Regions from separate parts of the Homo sapiens genome. Here region 1 is linked to region 2. The links are contacts of gene promoters, found by promoter capture Hi-C in blood cells and fetal thymus (Javierre and others, 2016). All regions are on one chromosome and are shown on one strand. The core of a region is centred on a gene start or on the middle of the fragment in contact, and the rest is flanking DNA. Distances in the headings are between cores, read along the strand shown.

Evidence for each region. The method cuts DNA at HindIII sites, captures the fragments that hold promoters and counts their contacts. A CHiCAGO score of 5 or more calls a contact.
Region 1: a contact is called between a fragment that was not itself captured here and the fragment with the promoter of ERICH3 in region 2, in 1 of 17 cell types (naive B cells). The highest score is 6.7, in naive B cells.

What each region holds. Positions count from the first base shown.
Region 1 is chr1:72,624,047-72,627,765 of GRCh38, forward strand. The region is part of intron 3 of LOC105378797 (a long non-coding RNA gene); the gene reads left to right. Among named protein-coding and RNA genes, the nearest start is that of LINC02796, 140 kb to the right of the region's middle. The HindIII fragment of the contact is 4,282 bases long and covers 24-3,719 here.
Region 2 is chr1:74,672,283-74,676,481 of GRCh38, forward strand. It overlaps ERICH3 (glutamate rich 3), which reads right to left and starts at 1,510. Exons shown (of 15, transcript NM_001002912.5): 1 at 1,215-1,510. The coding sequence starts at 1,237. The HindIII fragment of the contact is 21,395 bases long and covers 1-4,199 here.

The DNA.
Region 1 (3,719 bases), core at 915-3,414, 2.0 Mb before region 2:
AAGAAATGGTTTGACATTTTTCAAGCTTTTGTTTCTAATATGGCACATAAAGCAGTCTACTGAAAAACAACAAGAAAGTATGAGTAAAGATGGCTAAGCACCCTTGTTTTATTAGTCTGGGTAAAGCACGGGCTAGACAACAGACATACTTTAATGTCCTCAATGTTAGAATTCATGATTGTATTAAATCAGACTCCCGAGTTATTCATGAAATTTGATTTGAGGACTAAGTCATGATGAGAAAAAAGAACCACAATTGACATATCGTTTGATTGCATCTAATTTCCTGGTGATGACCATGATTTGCTTATATTTGTAAGATTATTGCAAAATCTTTGGTATTCATTGTTTTTCTTAGCAATTTGGGATTTTAGAAAATATAAAGGTAGCATTATAACATTTGTATTTCCTACTCTGGTATTGTGTAATATTTTGCTTGAAATCTAAGTGTGGGATTGTTTTATATGGCAAATATATAGCTTGAGACACATATTTTCTTTCTTTCTAGAGATCGTAACCCCCTCGTTTTCTTCATATGTCTCCTAAATATACTCATATCAACCATGTCACATCACGTTAGATGTTCCTGGATAATTTCACTTTCATTAAGGAACAGTATTGAAGCCTATATCCTCAAAAGTGTATGCAACTGCTTTTGTCTCAACAAGAGGTAAACTGGCTGAACATTTTAGATTAACTTTGGAGGATAGTCACTGTTATTTGAAAGAAATTCTATATTGCTATAAAATTGTATTGGAAACTGCTTTAGCTTAGCTGCAAAACCTGGGCTAAAACTCAGGGCTGAAAATATTACTGTGCTGATTCATCACCTGAGCAGAGCAGAAATCATAAACATTTATAGTTTACTTCTCATAATCATTTGATTCCATCACTTCCCATTTGTAGACTGGTAATACTGTTGTGACAGAAACAAATATACTTGATGAAAGGTATATACTTGTTGAAAAGCCTTTCTAAAGAAAACTTTCAGCAGTAACAACAGTATTGCTTCTACTCTGCTTGTAGAACTCTTATAAAAAGTTCAGTTTTTATCATTCATACCTAGCATTTGCTGATCTGTGTTATTTATTACATTCCAGGTACAATCTGTATTATCCCCTTATTGATAGGACTGTATCATGTCTCTTTATACCACTCTCACTTCTAATATGGCTCTGATATGGTAGGCGCTCAAAAATATTTTGAATGGTAATGATATTGAATACTTTAGGCATGAAAACAGTTCATCTATTTCCACCATGGATTTATTCAAACAAAAAATTACTAGGTTGAGACTTCTTAAAATTACTTAAAGATGAATGGGACAAATTAAAGATAGAGCTTTCAAATTTCTTTAGTATTTGACCCACTGTTCCCTAAGAAGGTTTTTAAAAATTAATGTTAACACAACAAACACAACTATAGAAAAACAGTTAGCTTTTTTTCAAAGTCATGAACTTATATGTAATAAGAGTCAAATGCAACTACTTCTTTCAGGAAACAGATATTTCAGGATGAATATCACTGTACTATTTATAATTCATTCCTGTGTGTCTGACTGGATAATTTGTATTTATTCTTGGTTATTCTGAGCTGGGGAGGCATCAATGAGAAAAATACCAGCCATTTTCTACTATTGGTCTTTCTTTCCCTTTTTAAATATCTTTCTCATTTCTGTTTCCTTATTTTTTCACTTCTTATCATTTCATTTTGTGTGCATTCACTGTTCATTTTCCCCAACTAAATGCATTAATCATGTCATTCAAGGCTTCAAAGTTTGACTAACACTTCTATTTATATTTAAGATGATTATTATTAATATATGTATGACCAAGTAACAATGTCGTTACTGTTGCCAATACCATTGTTGTCATGAAATATTTAGTGTCTTTGGGAGATACCAAGAGTACCAGACTAGTAATAGATATATTCCTTACCACTGTCATAAAGTAGCTTCCAATCTGTTTGAGAGATCCAAGTCACATAATAATAGTTGTTCATATTTATTGAAAATATGCTATGTATCAGAAACAGATCTAACAATATTTTTGTATTCATGTACACATCACAAAACTCTACTAGATAGATATTATTATTCCCATGTTATAAACTCAGAAGTCTAAAGGATCAAAGAAAGGAAGTAATTTGCTCCAGTAGACACAGATAATAAATAATAGAGGCAAGATTTGAACCCAGGCAGTCTGGTGCAAGAGCATTAATTTTGGCAATGAATGTGATTGCACTAAAAGACACATAAAATACATTTTCCTAAGGTCTTTATGGTTTAATATAAAGTAATAAGCCATCAGAGATATGGTAAATCTTTGTGAGTGTGCTTCTGCTTTTCACATTATTTTACTTGCTTTATTTCCTTGTTTAATATAGGCAAATACAGGGAATAAAGAAAAACCTGAATTTATTTTCCTGCCAGTTGTTAATGTCAGAAAGATCCAGTCACATATTTCCAAAAAAGAATATGTTCAAGGGTTGCAAAGTAATTAAAAACTGTAAGTTAGCTGTAGGATAGAAAGGTGCACCTGTTTTTGGCTTTCATGAATGCGTGATTCATTTTATGTGAAAGAAAATGTGCAGCGTACTCACAGCAAAAAAAAAAAAAATGAGAAAAGAGTACATTATATAGAAAGTGTATTGGCCAGGCGCGATGGCTCAGACCTGTAATCCTAGCACTTTGGGAAGCCAAGGCGGGTGGATCACCTGAGGTCAGAGTTCGAGACCAGCCTGGCCAACATGGTGAAACCTCGTGTCTACTAAAAATACAAAAATTAGCCGGACATGGTGGCAGACACCTGTAATCCCAGCTACTCTGGAGGCTGAGGCAGGAGAATCTCTTGAACCCGGGAGGCAGAGATTGCAGTGAGCCAAGATCGCGCCATTGTACTCCAGCCCAGGCTGGCAACAGAATGAGACTCGGTCTCAAAAACAAAAAAAAAAAAGGAAAAGAGAAAGAAAGCGTATCATCCTCAGAAAAAAATTCATTGGCAGCCCTCACAAGAAAGTTCTATTAGGTTCTTTTTCTTGACTGTAGGTGCTCCCCAACATAGCTGTCAGACCTCGGTAACCCCTATGCAAGTAATTTCAGCTCAGTGGACTAAAATGAAGTAGTGACTAAATAAAAACAGAAACCTAATTATTGATATTTTAATATGTACAAAGATATGATTCCTACCTGCCAGTTCTTTACAATAGCACAAAAATACTATTTACCATTATTAGCAAAAATGAAATACTCCAAGGTTGTCAGCTCAAAACCTATTAATATTTGAGTAGTTGTTGCTATATATTAACATGATACTAAAGTGTTTGGTTAATTTATTAATGATTAAAACTGTCAAACCAACTTCTTTTTACTTTTAATGAGAATTATTTTAATGGGAATTTATAAGTTAGGTGAAGTTTAATGTTTTCACCTATTCTTGACCTTGGATTAACATGGGAAGGTGAAATTTTGCTTCCGTTTTGACCTATTGTAAAACATTTTCATTTGTCTATATTCTAGTGGATCTTATATAAACCCTCATTCTGTAGTTAATAAAATCTTAAAAATGACTGACTTTGCTTAGTGCTTAAGTTTAATGATAAATATTTAGAATGAACAGTACCAATTCATACATGATAGTCATTATTGAAACATGTTCCCATGTATATTACAACTCCTTGCCTAAAGAACATAGCTCAATCTTTATCCAGGAGTTGTGAGA
Region 2 (4,199 bases), core at 260-2,759:
ATAACTAAAAATTGCACAGGAGTTCAGCATCAAAATGTTAAAAAGTACCTAAATTAAATTCAACTTGAGATAAAACAAAAAGTTTATGTAATCATAGCTATATCACTTTTCTAAAAGTTCTGAAACTGATTTCCAACGTGGCACCTTATATGGCTTTAGTTTTTTCAAACATTTTCATTTACGCCATTACACTCAGAGAATTCATTAAAAAGTAAAATCTTGAAGTTTGGGTATAAGTTCCAACACAACGACTAATGTGGTACTTCAAACATCACAAACTCCAAATGATCTCAAATATGTTGTCCTCTGCTAATTTGCTGCTCCTAAAAATGTGCAATAAATGCAATTAAAAAGGAAAGTGCCTTCAATTTAATTGCAAGATTGACTAGGATATTTATCTTCTTACTAGATGTATCATAATAAAAAATCGTCTAATATGCATTACATTGTTTAATTCAGGAGGAAATTGGATATTCTCCCTTCCAATAAAAAAAGAAACTTTTTTTTTTTGCAACAGCCAATAATGACGGTGTTCTTTCTAGAATACATTGAAAATTGCCAAAATAGGTTATCTAAGGGGTTCACCTACCTAAAGCAACTGAAGATCATGAGTAAATACACAGGCACACAACTCCTCCCTCTCTTTTCCTGTGCCATATAACCTTCCTTTATTAAAATACTTTTTAAAGACCCTTATGGTCCTTTTGAGATTGGGCAGAAAAAAATCCCTGAAATAATACCCCCTTTTCCCAATGAAACATCTTTCAATACTGAATGAACTCACACCTCGCTTATATGTAAGCTAAGGTGAGAATGCATCTCTCATTCTCAAATCTCCAAACGAATTCTTATTTTGGTAACCTCTTCTTTTGCATCTAAACACACATGTTCCACACCACAGGATCTTCTTGATCCCAGCGAAGGTCCTTGCTTAATGTATGCGTTTTTCACTTCCATTTTTTAATCCTTCCAGGGTGAAAATTTCAAAAGGGGCGAACGTGGGTGAAAGAAACGAAGAAGGGGAGGGAGGAGACATGATGCCTGGGATTTCTGCCATCCTCGCTGCAACCCAGAATTCGTATATATTTTCCTCTCCCCAGCCCTCCCCCTCGCTCCCCTCTCGCCCCTTCCCTCCGCAGCAGGAGGGAGGAGGAGGGGCAGCTGGCTGAAGCCGCCACCTGCCACAGCGTGGAAAAGCTCCAGTTGTCACTTACCCAGCGGGGTGAGAATGGCTCATTTTTGCAGGATCCCTTTTGGACCCCGCGGCAGGTGCGGAGGGTGGGTGCGTGGGGCCCCGTGCGCGCTGGCGCTGCGACAGTCGCGCTCGAGGGGTGGCTCCGCACCGAGGTCCCCTGTGCGCGGGCACCTGGGCTGGGCCGCCGCCGCCCCTGGGCGCCCGGGCTACCCGCAGCCTCCCGGGCTCCCACCCTCCGTTGGTATCCACAGCTTCCCTGTTGCTAAGGGAGGAGAGAGGCAAGCGCCCAGGGTCTGGAGAAGCGGAGGCGCTACTGGAACCGAGCCTGCGGAAGCTGGAAGTGAAGCCAGCTTCTACCCCTTTTTCTGGGCCCTGATAGGGAGGAGACCCAAGCAAGCCCCTGCTCTGTTGCTCTAGGGCGCGAGTTCCCCAGGTATCTGTAACATGAAAACACAAACACACTCGTGCACACACACAGGCACACCCACACATTTTGGCTGGCGTGCTTCCTGCTAGGCCCTGGGGAAGGAAGGACTGGGTAGCGGCTGAGGGTAATAAGAGCAGGGAGCAGCTACTGCGTGATGCGGTGGTTTCCAGTGCTAAAACAGCGATTGCAAATTTGAGGGAAAGAAGGACGTCTCTCAATCTGTTTTGGGTTTTGAATTTGTTTCTGCATCTGTAAGGCATTACAATCGACTCATTTTCTCCTTGGAAAACCCCTATCCTTCTTCCTAGCTGAGGTCCCCACTTCCAGTGGGCAGGGCTGACAGAGCTGGCTTTCAGAAGATGGGGGAGACGCAGTTATTCAGTAAAGCACCCAGAAACAGTACTTACATTGGAATCCAGTACATGGAATGCAGGGCTTAGATGAAGCAGCCTGGATTTAAAGGAGGATCTGAATGTGGAGGAAGTTTAAGCACTAGACTTAGATAACCTATTCTTGTTTTGTTCATGCTTGGTCAGGTGTTTTGCAGAATGACTTGATCTCTGGCCTCAGGTTCCTCATGTATAAGTGAAGGGTTGGACGCATCAGTGGTGACTGAGCTTTCTAGGGTCTCTATTCTGGGTCAGCCACATTTAGAGGTGGGAAGAGCATCACCTCATTAACGTCATTCTGCTTTTCCTCACGTGGTAAAGACCCACTGAGTATGACAGAGTTCAAACTCCTTAGTGTGACATTCAGGGGCCCTCATCACCTGGCCCCAGTGTCTTTCCCGAGCCTGTGTGACCACTTTCTCCACTACCTTAAACTCTAGCAAAACCAAACTCTTGCGCTATCCCTCTAGTGGAAACATACTTTCACCCTTGACTACTTGGAAAACTTCTATTCATCCTGTAACACTTAGCTTAAACACTTCCTCTTTGACATCCTCAGGTGTGCTAATGACTCTGGCCTCAGGGGGCCACTCGGCTGGGATATGCCTGTTTTGTGCTTACCCCCTGTATAACACTTGCTGAAGTAGATGCTGCCTTTTCTACTCAAATGCAAGCTCCTCCATTTCATTTTGTACATCTATTCCATTTTTCTATATTCTCAGAAGGAAGCAACAGTTTAATAAATGTTTGCAGCATGAGTGAAGGGAAAAAAGGAAACTCTTGAGTGGTGGCATTTGTAACGAGTTGTTACTAAATGCTCTCCTCAGCCTTTTATTGAGCATTTACTATCTCATTTAATCCTCATCTTCATTTTATGAGACAGGTTTTTTTCTCCATTTCATAGCTATCAAAACTAATACATAAAGAAATTAGTTATTTTTTCTGACATCTACAGTGGCTTCCAATGGGAAAAACTAGGATTCAAATCCAGATCTATCTGATTTCAGCCTACAAATGCCTTTAACAATTACAAGTTGATTTACTTTTCCGTGGCCCCTATAAATTGCCAGAGAAGCCAGATATTCTATACCATTACAGGTTTTGGACCTGAGTGACCAGAGCCATTCCAAGAAAAAAAAAAAAATATGATGCTAGCCCAATAGCTTAGGTCCTGAGACTGAAGGATTCAAGGCTGCTTCAGAGCCCAACTGGCCAGAGCTAGACTAAGGCAGAGGTCATCTCCCCGTGTCCCCTACCGTATGTCTATCCCCACTAACATTGGTTTCCATTTGAGGTTGCCCTTAATGCTCACTGTAACTAGATTTCACCTGGATAAAAATCGGGACTGGGGAAGGAGGAGGAGGAACTAGAAAGATACACTGTAACTTGCCCCAGGTGCTGCCAATCCCTAAGGATGGTGTAAATAATGTAATCTTATATAGATACTAGTTGTTACAAAATTCATTTTTGCAAATAGAAAATGGTATTTTCTCACTGGTTCAATGAGAAGGGAAATTAAAATATACTATTTAGATACTCAGGATTCTGTAGAAAAGATTCGCCAGCACTCTGCAGACAGTGAGGTACCCTCAACAGCATGTATTAATTCATAAATGGGGTTTGAGTTCTCCACCCCTGTGAGCTCCACAATTTCACATTCCTGATGAAAACTGCAAGGAAGCTACTAATTTTCACTTCAGAAAATGCTCACTGTGAAAATGTATTGGGAATTTAGCCAGAATGAGTTTCTATGTTAATTTCTAGAATGGAGATAGGGAAAGGGAATAAAGAAAAAAACTAAATTAAACTGTTTCAAGACCAAATAGTCACTGGAGTCCTTTTCACTTTCTCATAGGAAAAAAAAAGTCCCCAGATGTCCCCAGAAGTATCATAAATTTATAAAAAGATTTCAGTTTTATAGAAAGACCTGTGGAGTGAGAGTCAGGGTCAGGAGATTGAGAGAAGTAGAAGGGCAGCGGGGAGATAAGGATTACACCTACAGTGTTGATTGGATCTTCATTCAGGGTGAACAGCAGCTGGACTTAGGAATCACAGATCTAAACTATCAGTGACAGTCTTATTTGTTTTCTGTTGCTATAACAGAATACCACAGATAAGGTGATTTACAAAGAAATTTATTTCTTACAGTTCTGGAGGCTGTGAAGTCTGATGTTAAGAGGCCACATCT